Linked DNA regions of Homo sapiens: region 1 is linked to region 2. Evidence: promoter capture Hi-C in human tissues and cell types (Jung and others, 2019). All regions are on one chromosome and are shown on one strand. Each heading gives the region's core, a stretch centred on a gene start or on the middle of the fragment in contact. The rest is flanking DNA. Distances are from core to core; before and after follow the strand shown. Region 1 overlaps MYHAS (myosin heavy chain gene cluster antisense RNA). Region 2 holds the start of MYH8 (myosin heavy chain 8).

Region 1 (6,448 bases), core at 1,278-3,777, 160 kb before region 2:
CTTAAAAAGCTATTAGCAAATAACCATCACTTGCAAAGTATGTATTTAGTATCCTGAATTAAATAGTAAGGTACAGTCTCCACTTCTTTTTTTGTTTTGTTTGTTTGTTGTTTTTTGCTATTTAATATTTTGCTTCTTTGCTCACTCATTGCTGCTTAATAAAGATCCATATCCTCTACATCTCATCAATTCACCCTTCCATTTGACAGATTCTGCTGATGTACCAAAAGGAGAAAATTATTGTTATGGGCAATTCAGATTTTTGCTTAAAGATGTGTTTTTTGGGAGCAAAGTATTTCTGAAATCAGTCTTCCAGCAGTGAAATACTGACATAACCAAGTTAACAGTTGACTCTAAAATTGCCATGATATTATTTCAAAGGCAGACTACATGCTTTTGGTAGCCTTATCCCTAAACTGGATTAAGCATAAACATGGTCAGAATAACATGTAGAAGAAAGCTACTGGAGTGGCAGCGATGTGCTGGTTTTCAACGTGGATGCTAATTAGCTCGTTGTTTTCAGTTGGTGAAAATTCATCAAATTGTCATCTTATGATGTTTAGTTGTTTGCATTTTATATCATACTCAATAAAGAGTTTTTCTTCTAAAAAATGCTATCTTCATATAAAGATAGCAGAGAAGTGGCAATCACTGTGGATATGTTTTACTAACAGTTTATCTGGTTAAAATTCTGTAATGGTTGCTGCTTGAAACCAAAAAAGGGTCAGTTCAGGGACCCAATCTTATAACCTCAAAGTGCATTTTTATATGCCTGTGCATAGTGAACAATAAAATCCTTTTAGCAATAATTAAACAGATAGGTTTAGCTCTCAAGTAGCTTGAGGCTATAGCTGTGGCTTGACCTCACAGAAAAAACTGCTCTGTAACCACAGCAATCCCCAAGAGACACTGCCTTGAGTAACCAGGTGTGCCCGTTCATCTATCAGGCAGTTCAAGTTCAGGATACCAGAGCCAGTTGCCACAATCTAGTTACCAAGCCACACACCCACTGTCTCTCTCTGTCTAAATCCTTTCTCTTCCCCTCCTCCTCCAGGACGTCTCTAATGAGTTCTAGACTTCAACTCACCCCATCCCCACTTTTCTGCCCTCAAACACACACATATACTCTCTATCTAAAACAAACATTAAAAGCTTACCTCCTTTCAATGGCTTCTCCCCTTGTCTTTGTCAAATGCTTCCCTCTGCACCAGCCAATCCCTCTTCCCCCTTCTCAATACCCTCAGATTTCTGTTTGGGCATCTATACAGTCCCAAGGAAGGTGACTTTCCTCTTGTTACCTCCAGGGATGGATGGGGCATATGGCCTAAGCTACGGTCTTCAGTTTTGTTTTCCCTGCTCATGTACACCTAAAAGTATAAGTTACAGGGCAGAGCTGAGAGGCCAAAAGGATCTGAGCTCTTGATAGTATCACTGAGCTTCCAGATCAAGCCTTGCCTTATGCTAGTCTTCTCTCTGATCCTTCCAGATACATTAGCTGACACATTTAATGTTTTAGCTTCTTTGAGTTGGAATTCCTGGTGCTTTTAACAAAAACATAGCAATTGAAACATTTTAATACGTTTATTTTCTTTTATTTTTTTAGACTGAGTTTCACTCTTGTTGCCCAGGCTGGAGTGCAATGGTACGATCTCTGCTCACTGAAATCTCTGCCTCCTGGGTTCAAGCGATTCTCCTGCCTCAGCCTCCCGAGTAGCTGGGATTACAGGCATGTGCCACCACACCCAGCTAATTTTGTATTTTTAGTAGAGACGGGGTTTCTCCATGTTGGTCAGGCTGGTCTTGAACTCCTGACCTCAGGTGATCCGCCCACCTCGGCCTCCCAAAGTCCTGGGATTACAGGAGTGAGCCACCGCGCCCCACCATAAATTTCTCATACAAATAGTCCATGCCACTGGCTCCATTCCCTTATCACTTCCTCTTGACCTATCTAAAATCAGCTTAGCTAAGGGGTAAAGATACGAACCAATTGCCTCTCTATGGGCCCATAGCCTTTTATTTTTTTTCTTTTCTTTTTTTTTTTTTTCTGAGATGGAGTTTCACTCTGTCACCCAGGCTGGAGTGTAGTGGTGCAATTTCAGCTCACTGCAACCTCCGCCTCCCAGGTTCAAGTGATTCTCCTGCCTCAGCCTCCTGAGTAGCTGGGATTACAGGCGCACACCACCACACCAAGCTGATTTTTGTATTTTTAGTAGAGATGGGGTTCCATCATGTTGGTCAGGCTGGTCTCCTGACCTCATGTGATCCGCCTGCCTTGGCCTCCCAAAGTGTTGGGATTACTGGCGTGAGCCACTGAGCCCGGCCGTTTTTGTTTTTTTTTTTGTTTTTTTTTTGAGACAGGGTCCCACTCTGTTGCCCAGGCTGGAGTGCCATAGTCTTTTTTACAGTGGCATTTATATCACTTTGTCATGTGTTGTCTAGGTCCACCATCCCTTATCTACAATTCTGAAATCCAAAATGCTTTGAAAAGACAAAATCTTTTTTTTTTAAGAAAATAAGTTTTCCCTTTCACAACAAAACTTGACTGAAAGTGGTGTAGAGATATTTATCTCTCTTTATCCCACTTAGTGTGAGTATTTATGTGCAGAGATTCTTTCACTGCAGAAATATGAAGTTGTTTGATTCTGAGGTCCTCTCCCAGATCCTGCTGGGGATACTAGGGAGTATAGATCCACAACTCCAAATCCACAACCTTTGGGGCCAGGTGCATTTGGAACTCAGTATTTTAATAACTTTTGGAAAGTTTTACAGTGCACATCACATATATTACCCTGTTGGGAGTATGACATAATATTCAGTAGTTCTTTAGGGAGAAACTGCCTGCAAAGCAGGAAGAACATTCAAAACTTCTGGCAGAACAGTGGGAATCCACTGATAACATTACAGAAACAGATATCTGGTAGTCAAAGAAAATTCCTTCATTGATACAGCATTAGTCTACACTGTCTCTGAAAAAGAAATTGATATCTATGTGATACTGTAATGGTGGATGTATGACATTAGTCAAAATCCATAGAATGACCAACACAGAGTGAACTCTAATGTAAGCTATGGACTGTTAAATGTAGACATATCGTATTGGGTAGTATATTGGATCAGATAACTTCAAAGATACCATCTAGCCTGTCCATGATTCCTCTCTGTAAGCCCCCCACTCCTTTAGAATATCTCAGAGTTGGCTAGGCACGGTGGCTCAAGCCTGTAATCCCAGCACTTTGGGAGGCCTAGGTGGATGGATCACAAGGTCAGGAGATCGAGACCATCCTGGCAAACACAGTGAAACCCCGTCTCTACTAAAAATACAAAAAATTAGCTGGGCGTGGTGGCAGGCGCCTGTAGTCCCAGCTACTCAGGAGGCTGAGGCAGGAGAATGGCGTGAACCTGGGAGGCAGAGCTTGCAGTGAGCCAAGATCACGCCACTACATTCCAGCCTGGACGACACAGTGAGACTCCGTCTCAAAAAAAAAAAAGAAAAAAAAAGAATATCTCAGAGTCATCTCATATCTGTAAGCCCTGCCCACACATTCAATCGAAACTCACACATGCCTCTAATCGCCAGCGTGAACTCTTCTCCCACAGTCTACACTATACTTCCAGATTTGCTTCTCTAACCTACGGCGTTCTTCTCCCTCCTTTTTCCTCAAGACCTTCAGTGACTTCTATTGCTTACTAAGCCAAGGCCAGAGAGTTCCCCTGGGCATTTAAGGTCTTACTGAATTCAACAGGTATTCCTTTACCCATGCAAACTTTTAGATCACTCTTCCTCCACAAGGACCCTCTATTAAGAGAAAATACCTAAGAGAATATTTGTCAAAGGGGCCCTGACCCCTTTTCCTCTCACACCTCTCCACCATTTACCATTGACTGATTTGAAATGTGTCCCTTTAGGTTCTTTTTGTCATTAGCACAGTCACTCAATTCTTATGCATTAATCTTCTCTTAGCTCCTCCGAATTGCTCTACCCTTTCAAAAACTTTTTGGTTCTAATCTAACATTTCTCTCATGATCATCGTACTTAATCTAATTAGTGCTCTCTGAGCTTTTAAACATCATTTTCCAAAGGGGAATCCTTGGTGAATTATACTCCCTCTGAGTATCTGATCTGTATAAGAAACTCTAAATTTGCGTTCCACACATTTAACAGTGCATATTATCAGATTCATCAGTAGGAAAAATTAATTGTCTCATTGTTTTTAATAGAAGATCAGGAAGAGAAGGGATCATTTTCTTGACGTATAAAAGCACCATTCAATCGTGAACAATTTAGCTAAAAGAAAAGAATTAACTTGTATTTGAAATATGTCATTTTCTGTCATTCCTGGAACATAGAGAGGGGACTAGTTCTCTGAGATCAAAACTCAGAATGCCATTTTTCTTGATGTTGGTCTATTTTATCTTTCATCTTTGTTACCTACATGTTTTGTTTGCTTTTTGTCAAAGCACATGCCAATAGACTAATATGAAGCTTCAGGCTACTGCAGTGTCTCATCTAAGCATAAACCTAAGATTTCAAAGAGGAATCAACATCCCTCTAGTCTTTAGTTTTTTTTGTTTGTTTTTGTTTTTTTTGTTTGTTTGTTTGCTTGAGACAAGGTCTTGCTCTATCAACCAGTCTGGAGTGCAGTGGTGTAATCATGGCTCAATGCAGCCTTGAACTGCTAGGCTCAAGCAGTACTCCTGCCTCAGCCTCCCGAGTAGCTAGGACTTCAGACATGAGCCATCATGTCTGACTCTTTTTTTTTTTTTTTTTTTTTTGTAGAAATAGGGTCTTGCTTTGTTGCCCAGGTTGGTCTCAAATTCTTGGCCTCCAGTGATCCTCCTGCCCTGGCTTGCCAAAGCGCTAGGATTACAGGTGTTAGCCACCATGCCCAGTCCCCAGTCTGTGATTCTATTTATTTTGATTGCCAAAAATAAGCCAGAGGAAAATTACTGTGAAATTTCTTTTAAAGGTCAATCCATTTCTTGAATGACTTGCTACAGAAGAAGACTTCAGGATTATTCACATCCAATAGCCTCAAGAGAAAAAGAACTTTTCTATAAAATAGCCTGGTCCTTCAGCAATTATCACCGAAACTTTTCCAAGCAAATAAAACCAATGTATTAAGAATTTTGACAATATTGAAGGAAGATCTGACAATGATATACATTGACACAATTAGACGTAAAGTAATGACTTCTTAGATGGGATGGTTAATTTTATGGGTCAACTTGGCCAGGCCCCAGTACCCAGTTTTGGGTCAAGCACCAGTCTAGACATTGTTGTGAAGGGATTTTTATTTTTATTTTTTGAGACAGGGTCTTGCTCTGTTACCCAGTCTGGAGTGCACTGGTGCAATCATAGCTCACTGCAACCTCAACTTCTTAGGCTCAAGTGATCCTCCTGCCTCAGCCTCCCAAGTAACTGGGACCACAGGCATGTGCACCATGCCTGGGGCTAAAATTTTTTATTTTGTAAAGACGGGGTCTCACTATGTTGCCCAGGCTGGTCTCTAACTCCTAGGCTCAAGCTATCCTCCCACCTTTGCCTCCCAAAGCGCTGGAATTATAGGCAGCAGCCCCCATGCCGGGCCAAAGAGATTTTTTAAGGATGCGATTAATATTTAAATCAGTAGACTTCAAGTAAAGCAGATTACTCTCTATTATGTGGGAGGGCCTCATTCAATCAGTTGAAGGTCTCAAAAGACTGAAGTCACCAAAGGACTTAAGACTACAACATCAACTGTTTCCTGGCTCTTCAGCCTGCTAACCCTGCTCTGCTGATTTCAAATTGCCAGCCTCACAACAGTGTGAGCCAATTCCTTCAAATAAATCTCTCGCTTTCCCTCTGTGTGTGTGTGTGCACACGTGCGTTTGACTCCTTGGAGAATCGTGACTAATAAAGCAGATATGCATATTTACAGTTGAGGCATACAAGTGAGAACATGGCAATGTGATACAGAACAAACAAATAGTAGTGCTTACAAATAGGAAAATTTCTTGAACTCATCCCCTTCTCCTCCAGCGAAGGTCCAAACTTTGTTACTATGACAGTACATTAGTTCATAAAATAATAAGTATATGAAATTTTTATAAAAACTGGAATGATCTCTTCAAATCAGCAAATCTGCTGCATCTGAATTTCCAGGTTCATATTGCTTGCTCAGATACTGCCCCAAGTCACCTTTGAGCTAGCACTAGACTGTCATTGAGTCAAATTTTGCAGCTTCTGGAATGTAGGAATTTACTTGGTGAGACACAAGTCTGGGTTTTCAAGTTGTGGATTAATGGACCAAAGGAAAATCAAGAAATGAAAGAACACCAAACTTGTAAATTCAATAACTAGAGGTGAGAGGAATGGAGAAAAAATCTGTTGTCAATAATTGGCAGTTTGTCAAAAAAATACACATTTGGAAGTGAAGGTGATTATCTCAGTTTTTAACATGAGATAGAT
Region 2 (6,350 bases), core at 1,071-3,570:
CCACGTGCCAGTAGTAACCAAGTAGAAAGTGTAATAGAAAAAATAATCCTATTCAACATATCAACAGAAAACTCTAAAATTTGTAGGAATACACCGAACAAGGAATATAAGATCATTATGGAAAAAACTTTTAAAAATGACTAAAAAGTATTTTTGAAAAGGACTTGGAATAAACAGGAAAATATATCATCCTTATAAACTGAAAGACTCACTTTTATAAAGCTATCAACTCTTATCAAATTAATCTATTAAATCAATTTAATCAAAATCAAAATCCCAATAGAATTTTCCATAACCTGAAGAACATGATTCTAAAACTCATATAGTAGAAGGTAAAAATTAACAGGACAACTTTGAATAATTAGGGAAAATTGGCCCTACTGGTCATCAAAACCTATGCTATTGGCATAGAAATACGGTACAAAATATGGAATCCAGAAACAGATTACATGCACACGAACACACACACAGCTGGATTACAAATCTCACTATTTTTTAAGCATCAGATTGAAAATACAGGATTACACATCTCACTATTTCATAAGCATTAGCTTGAAAATACAGAAGAATATATGTATGACTCTGAGTTCTTGAGTTAGAGAAAGTTTTTCTTATACAATACACACAAAAAACCAAAAATATAAAAGAAAATTTTTTATAACTCTGACTACCTAAAGATGTAAAACTTCTAGAAGATTGAGATCGCATAGTAAAGATCATTATTAAATCAGGAGAAACTTTTTAGAACTTGTATAAACAAAATTATTACAATCTTAAACCTACGGAATTTTACACAGAAATTTAAAAATGAGTAATATCAAAATAATCCAGTGATAGAGGGAATGGTGAGAATATATAAGAAACAAGACTGACCATGAACTGATAATTATCAGTGCTGGATGATGAATATACTAGGTTCATTATGCTATCCCCTCTACTTTTGCATATGTTTGAAATGTTTTCATATTATTATTTATGTACTAACATGGCAAATGATCCAAGAGTGTAGAATGAAAAAAGAAAGTTTGTAAATAAATAATCATACTATCTATATTTTAAACATCTATATTATATATTATAAATTTTCTATGGCCCAATTTCCTTAGACCAGTTTTACTAATTTATATTTTCCCAGAAAATACATATGTAAATGTACAGAAAAGGTCTGCAATATTACAAACTAAACGGGTATCCGTAGTTACCTTGGGAGAAAAGGGAGATACCAGCATTGTGAGTGTTCATCAAAGGGAAAATTTAGCCTAATCTCTAAGGCTTTAATTTTTATGTAATTACAGTGTAAGAGGTTACACACCTGCATATATTTATCAAACCCATAGGCCTGGAATTGTTCTGCATCCTATCTGTGGTGGTGGCTACATGAATCAATACGTGTATAAAAACTCATACAATCATACAACAAAAGAAGTAAATTTTATTATAAAGTTTAAAAATTTTTAAAAATAAAAGCAAAAAACCTCATAAAACTGTCACTTTAAAAGGGTGAATTTGACTCTATGTAAATTATACCTCAATATATCTGACCTTAAAAAAAGGAAAGAGTTTAATTAAAAAAAATCATAATTTATTTAAAGAATAGGGTATAAATTACATTAGTGATATGATATATTAATTATTAAAGCATATTACAAGGCACACATGTACTATATATGCATCTATAATATGATCCCACTTATACGCCTCTATCTTATTTCTGCATTAGAGATTACAGAGACTTTTTTTACTTACCTGTATTTTTTTCTGTAATAAACATATTATTTTCTACTAATAATGTTTTTCAAAGTTAGATGAGTGGGCACTGGCCCAATGGTGGAGACTCAAGGTAGAATCTCTGCTGTCTAAGCCTGGACTTCAAGAGTGAGCATCTGTAGTGGCCCAAGGGAATGCAGTGGGGGGTTCCCGTGGTAGCAAATAAGGAAACGTGCTTAAGGCCCTGACAGCCGTGTGCCCCGGGTATCTGATCATTTGGCTACCACAGGCGTGCATGAAAGAGTTTGCCAAATTGAATATAGCTCTTAAGAACTTACTCTGAGGCCCCATCAGGCACTGTCAAAGATTCCCTTCCCAGCACACTAGAAAGCATTCTCTGCTGGCAGATCGGTCTCTGTCAAATTATTTATAGGAGATTGGTTTGCATACACAAAATGATATGAATACTTCTAATTATATCCAAACATGACAAATGTCACTACAAACTATGCTGAGGGTTCATGTTGCCAAATGTCTTGCCCTAACAAAGAGGAGGTAGTTGCAGCATCAGCACATTAGTTCCTATATAAGCAGGACTGCCCCTTGTGCCTTATTTCCACCAAGAACCCAGAGGTAAGTGATGAAGGCCTTGGAACTCGAAAAACCCCAGGTGGGGAAAAGAGCTGACCTCGTAGTTATCTGTGAGCATTAAACTGCTCTCTCAATCTTAACTTTTGTCTTCATAGAACCAAGCTTTGGGGTAGGGAAACTTCAATTCTGTAACTATAATAACAATTCTGTAACTATAATATTGGAATTTCGGAGCATCACTAATAAGAAGCTTGTTGTTTTACAGAGTGGAACACTTCTGAACCTGCATTTTTATCTGGAACTCCAGAGGTAAGACTTGGCTTTATTAATTTATTGATGACAGAGGGGATATAGTCTAATGAAGCTGTGAACAATCCTGAATTATACACCATTTCCATGTTTTTGCAGTTATATCAGGAAAGAGTGTTTCCGAGTGAGTGTTTATAAATGCTAGAAAATAACTTTTTCAAAATGTCTTCTTCTCAGAGACTATCCTCATTTGGGTTCCAAGATTCAAAGACCGTTTAGGACAGAATTAGCTTCAACAGTGAGTTCTCAGCTGTGCTTAGAACTGTCCAGTGGCAATAGACTAGTCCATGCCAGTCTTCTTCTATGGCAAAGCATTGAGGACTTAGGACATTTTATAGACATTTTTAAAGACTCCAGAAAGATTTTTACCTAGAAATATAAATATAAATATTTTAGCTACCTTTGATTATTTGTTATTTGTTGTTAGAAAGACTTATTATTATTTACTTAACAGGTCGCAAGTATTACATCCACCGGGTGTTAAATACCATGACTAATTTAAGAGGAATCCTGCCCTTCCCTAAGTAACTTTCTAATTGAAAATAAAGGAAAAACTCAACCAATCTAACATGTCCACATTGCAGAGGCCTATCTATTAATCAGAAGACAATGGCTTACATGCATGTGATGTACTCTTAAAACTTTTTTCTCTGTTTTCTGGGTGGAAAGAAAAGAAACCCATGGAATTTATGTGGGAAGAAGGGCCTTTGTGCTGAAGCTCTCATTCCTCTGTGGTTAGATCTGTTAACTGACAGCTGAAATCTCTCATGTCAAAAAAGATTTTGGAATCAAGGCAATGCTAAGTCTGTTGGGAACAACCCAAATTACAAAAAATCCAGAGTATTAGAATGTATTATGTTCTTCTAACAATCCACTGAGAGATACAACACCAAATATCAACATAAAGATGTTAAAAATAATTATTTGCTTTATGAGAGAAAATGGCCATCTTAAAAGGCAAAGATTTTTTGATAGCTTTGAAAATATGAACCTTCATTTGAACAAGACAAACTTTCTTTTCTCACCATATGATTGTCCTGGCATATGGCATAGACAAACATTATGCAGAAAGAGGAGAGGAAATTAAATAATGACAGTTGCTATAAAACAATCCATCAATAGTTTTAGCTGTAGAGGTTTCATTCTAATTCAATTGTAGGTACCCTATCCCTGAGGATCAAGATATGTGATCTGAAAAGGAAATTCACAGTCCTAAAAATGAAATCTCAAATTACAGTCTCACTCCATACTTGTCCTTTAGACTATGTTAGAACACTGGGGAGTGCCAGTTTGGAGGAATAGTTACAGCACAGGCTATGTTCAACATTTCTTTCATTTCAAATCCTAACTCACATTTGTGACTTCTGCTTTTTATATCTCTCTCTCCCGTTTCTCTCCTCCCTAGGCAGAATCCTTTGCTAAATAAATCGCAGCCATGAGTGCGAGCTCAGACGCTGAGATGGCTGTTTTTGGCGAAGCTGCTCCCTACCTTCGAAAATCAGAAAAGGAGCGGATTGAGGCCCAAAACAAGCCGTTTGATGCTAAAACATCTGTCTTTGTGGCGGAGCCCAAGGAATCCTATGTGAAGAGCACTATACAAAGCAAAGAAGGAGGGAAAGTAACCGTAAAGACTGAAGGTGGAGCAGTAAGTGAAAACAGGGAGAAAATACTCCCCATTTTATTTCTTGGTTCAAAAGTTGAAGCCTAACTTACTGGGAATCTCCAAGCCTGTTGCCAATGCAAACACCCTTCTAGTCAGTGTTGAGACATTAGATGTGGAAGGCAAAAGAAATTCACAGCAGTACCTTCATGTCTTCCCTTCCCAACTTCGCACAGGACCTCACCCCACTATGTATGGCCTTCACCATTTCCCTTCAATTCCCCACTTCCTAGTCTGAATGTCCAAACTTGAGGGAAATGAAAACAAGCTCCTCCTATCAGAAGTTAAATATTTACTTAGTTAAATAATGTATTAATATCCCCATTACTTCCAAAAACATGAAGTTTCTTAATGAATGAAAGAAAAAAATAAAAATTTAGCCTACTAAAATAAGAAAAAAAGGATATAAACTGATAAATCTGGGATAAGAGAATGTGGGAGGAAAAAATCTTTTAAAAAGATAGTGTCCTAGCTCATCATAGGAAACAGGTTTTCTTAACATTAAACTCTGAAATGAATATATTTCATGCCTTTTTTAAGAGGACATTAAATAATATAATGAGAAGTATGTGTGATTATAGTTTTGTACCAAAATATACAGGCAAACATAAACCCTACCTCCAACCATTAAAACGAACTGGTCTTAGCCAGGCGCAGTGGCTCACGCCTGTAATCCCAGCACTTTGGGAGGCTGAGGCAGGTGGATCACCTGAGATCAGGAGTTCGAGACCAGCCTGGCCAACATGGCGAAATCCTGTCTCTACTAAAAATACAAAAATTAGCTGGGCATGGTGATGGGCACTTGCAATCCCAGCTACTCAGAAGGCTGAGGCAGGACAATCACTTGAAGCAGGAGGGCGGAGGTTGCAGTGAGCTGAGATCGCGCCACTGCACTCCAGCCTGGGCAAAAAAAGCAAAACTCTATCTCAAACAAACAAACAAAAACGAACTGGTTTCTTGCTTACTCACCAGACTCTAACTGTCAGGGAAGACCAAGTCTTCCCTATGAACCCTCCGAAATATGACAAAATTGAGGACATGGCCATGATGACTCATCTACACGAGCCTGGAGTGCTGTACAACCTCAAAGAGCGCTATGCAGCCTGGATGATCTACGTGAGTGTCTGTAAACACCTTTTTATTTCATGTCTCTCTCTGAGTAAAAACGAGATCCAAATGATAAATGTTCTGATCTTCCCAGACCTACTCAGGCCTCTTCTGTGTCACCGTCAACCCCTACAAGTGGCTGCCGGTGTACAAGCCCGAGGTGGTGGCTGCCTACAGAGGCAAAAAGCGCCAGGAGGCCCCGCCCCACATCTTCTCCATCTCTGACAATGCCTATCAGTTCATGTTGACTGGTGAGTGAGTGAGGCATCTATTTACAGAAATGTGTAAATAGAATCTTTGCAGAACAGACAGACCTCTTCCGAGCCTCTTTATGTTATGATAATACATTCTAGCCACATGGGGCTTCACTGTTTTCAAAAAACTTTCACAGCTGTGACATCTTATGCTCTTCCCAGCAGCTACCTCCATTTTACAGATGAGTAAAGTGAAGCTCACTGAATTCACTGTCCTTCCCAAGCTAACACAGATAGTTAAGTGGAAGCCTAGCTGAAACAATTACTAGACCACTGTAAACATATTTATTGTTTTCCATATTTTGTTACTTTCCAATTTGGATAGAAAAAAGTGTTCAAACAGACTTTTTAAAAATACCCAGGCTCACAGCAGTCAACGAAAAGAGTTATCAGCCACAGCTGGAAAACTTTGTGAATTCTTATGTTTATTTTTGAATGACACAGCTAATATTGCCAGCCTTTAAGGGTAAAACATGAGTAAAGAAAGCTATGATTTTCCTCCCAAAGATTTGAAGCACTTTCCTATTACAATGAAAGGAAAAAATCTTTTCTGAGAAAAATGTTTAAATTGTATCAAAGTCTGTTACTCCTGCCTTATCAAGGCATAAACAACCAGCTTTGATACGCATTATAGGCCCAAATACAGCATTAAAACCTTTTATCTTCACACACCAAATGCACTGCCTTTGGAAATACTTTCTATTCCTGAGTTTCCTGTTGTT

Evidence for each region. The method cuts DNA at HindIII sites, captures the fragments that hold promoters and counts their contacts. A contact is called where the count stands out against the background at its distance.
Region 1: a fragment that was not itself captured here is called in contact with the fragment with the promoter of MYH8 in region 2 in 2 of the 25 tissues and cell types used here (mesenchymal stem cells and mesendoderm cells).

The regions. Positions count from the first base shown.
Region 1 is chr17:10,573,943-10,580,390 of GRCh38, reverse strand. The region is part of intron 3 of MYHAS (myosin heavy chain gene cluster antisense RNA); the gene reads right to left. Among named protein-coding and RNA genes, the nearest start is that of MYH2, 28 kb to the right of the region's middle. The HindIII fragment of the contact is 5,942 bases long and covers 1-5,498 here.
Region 2 is chr17:10,417,920-10,424,269 of GRCh38, reverse strand. It overlaps MYH8 (myosin heavy chain 8), which reads left to right and starts at 2,320. Exons shown (of 40, transcript NM_002472.3): 1 at 2,320-2,340; 2 at 2,564-2,607; 3 at 4,013-4,252; 4 at 5,240-5,383; 5 at 5,469-5,625. The coding sequence starts at 4,043. The region is part of intron 2 of MYHAS (myosin heavy chain gene cluster antisense RNA); the gene reads right to left. The HindIII fragment of the contact is 11,670 bases long and covers 1-6,350 here.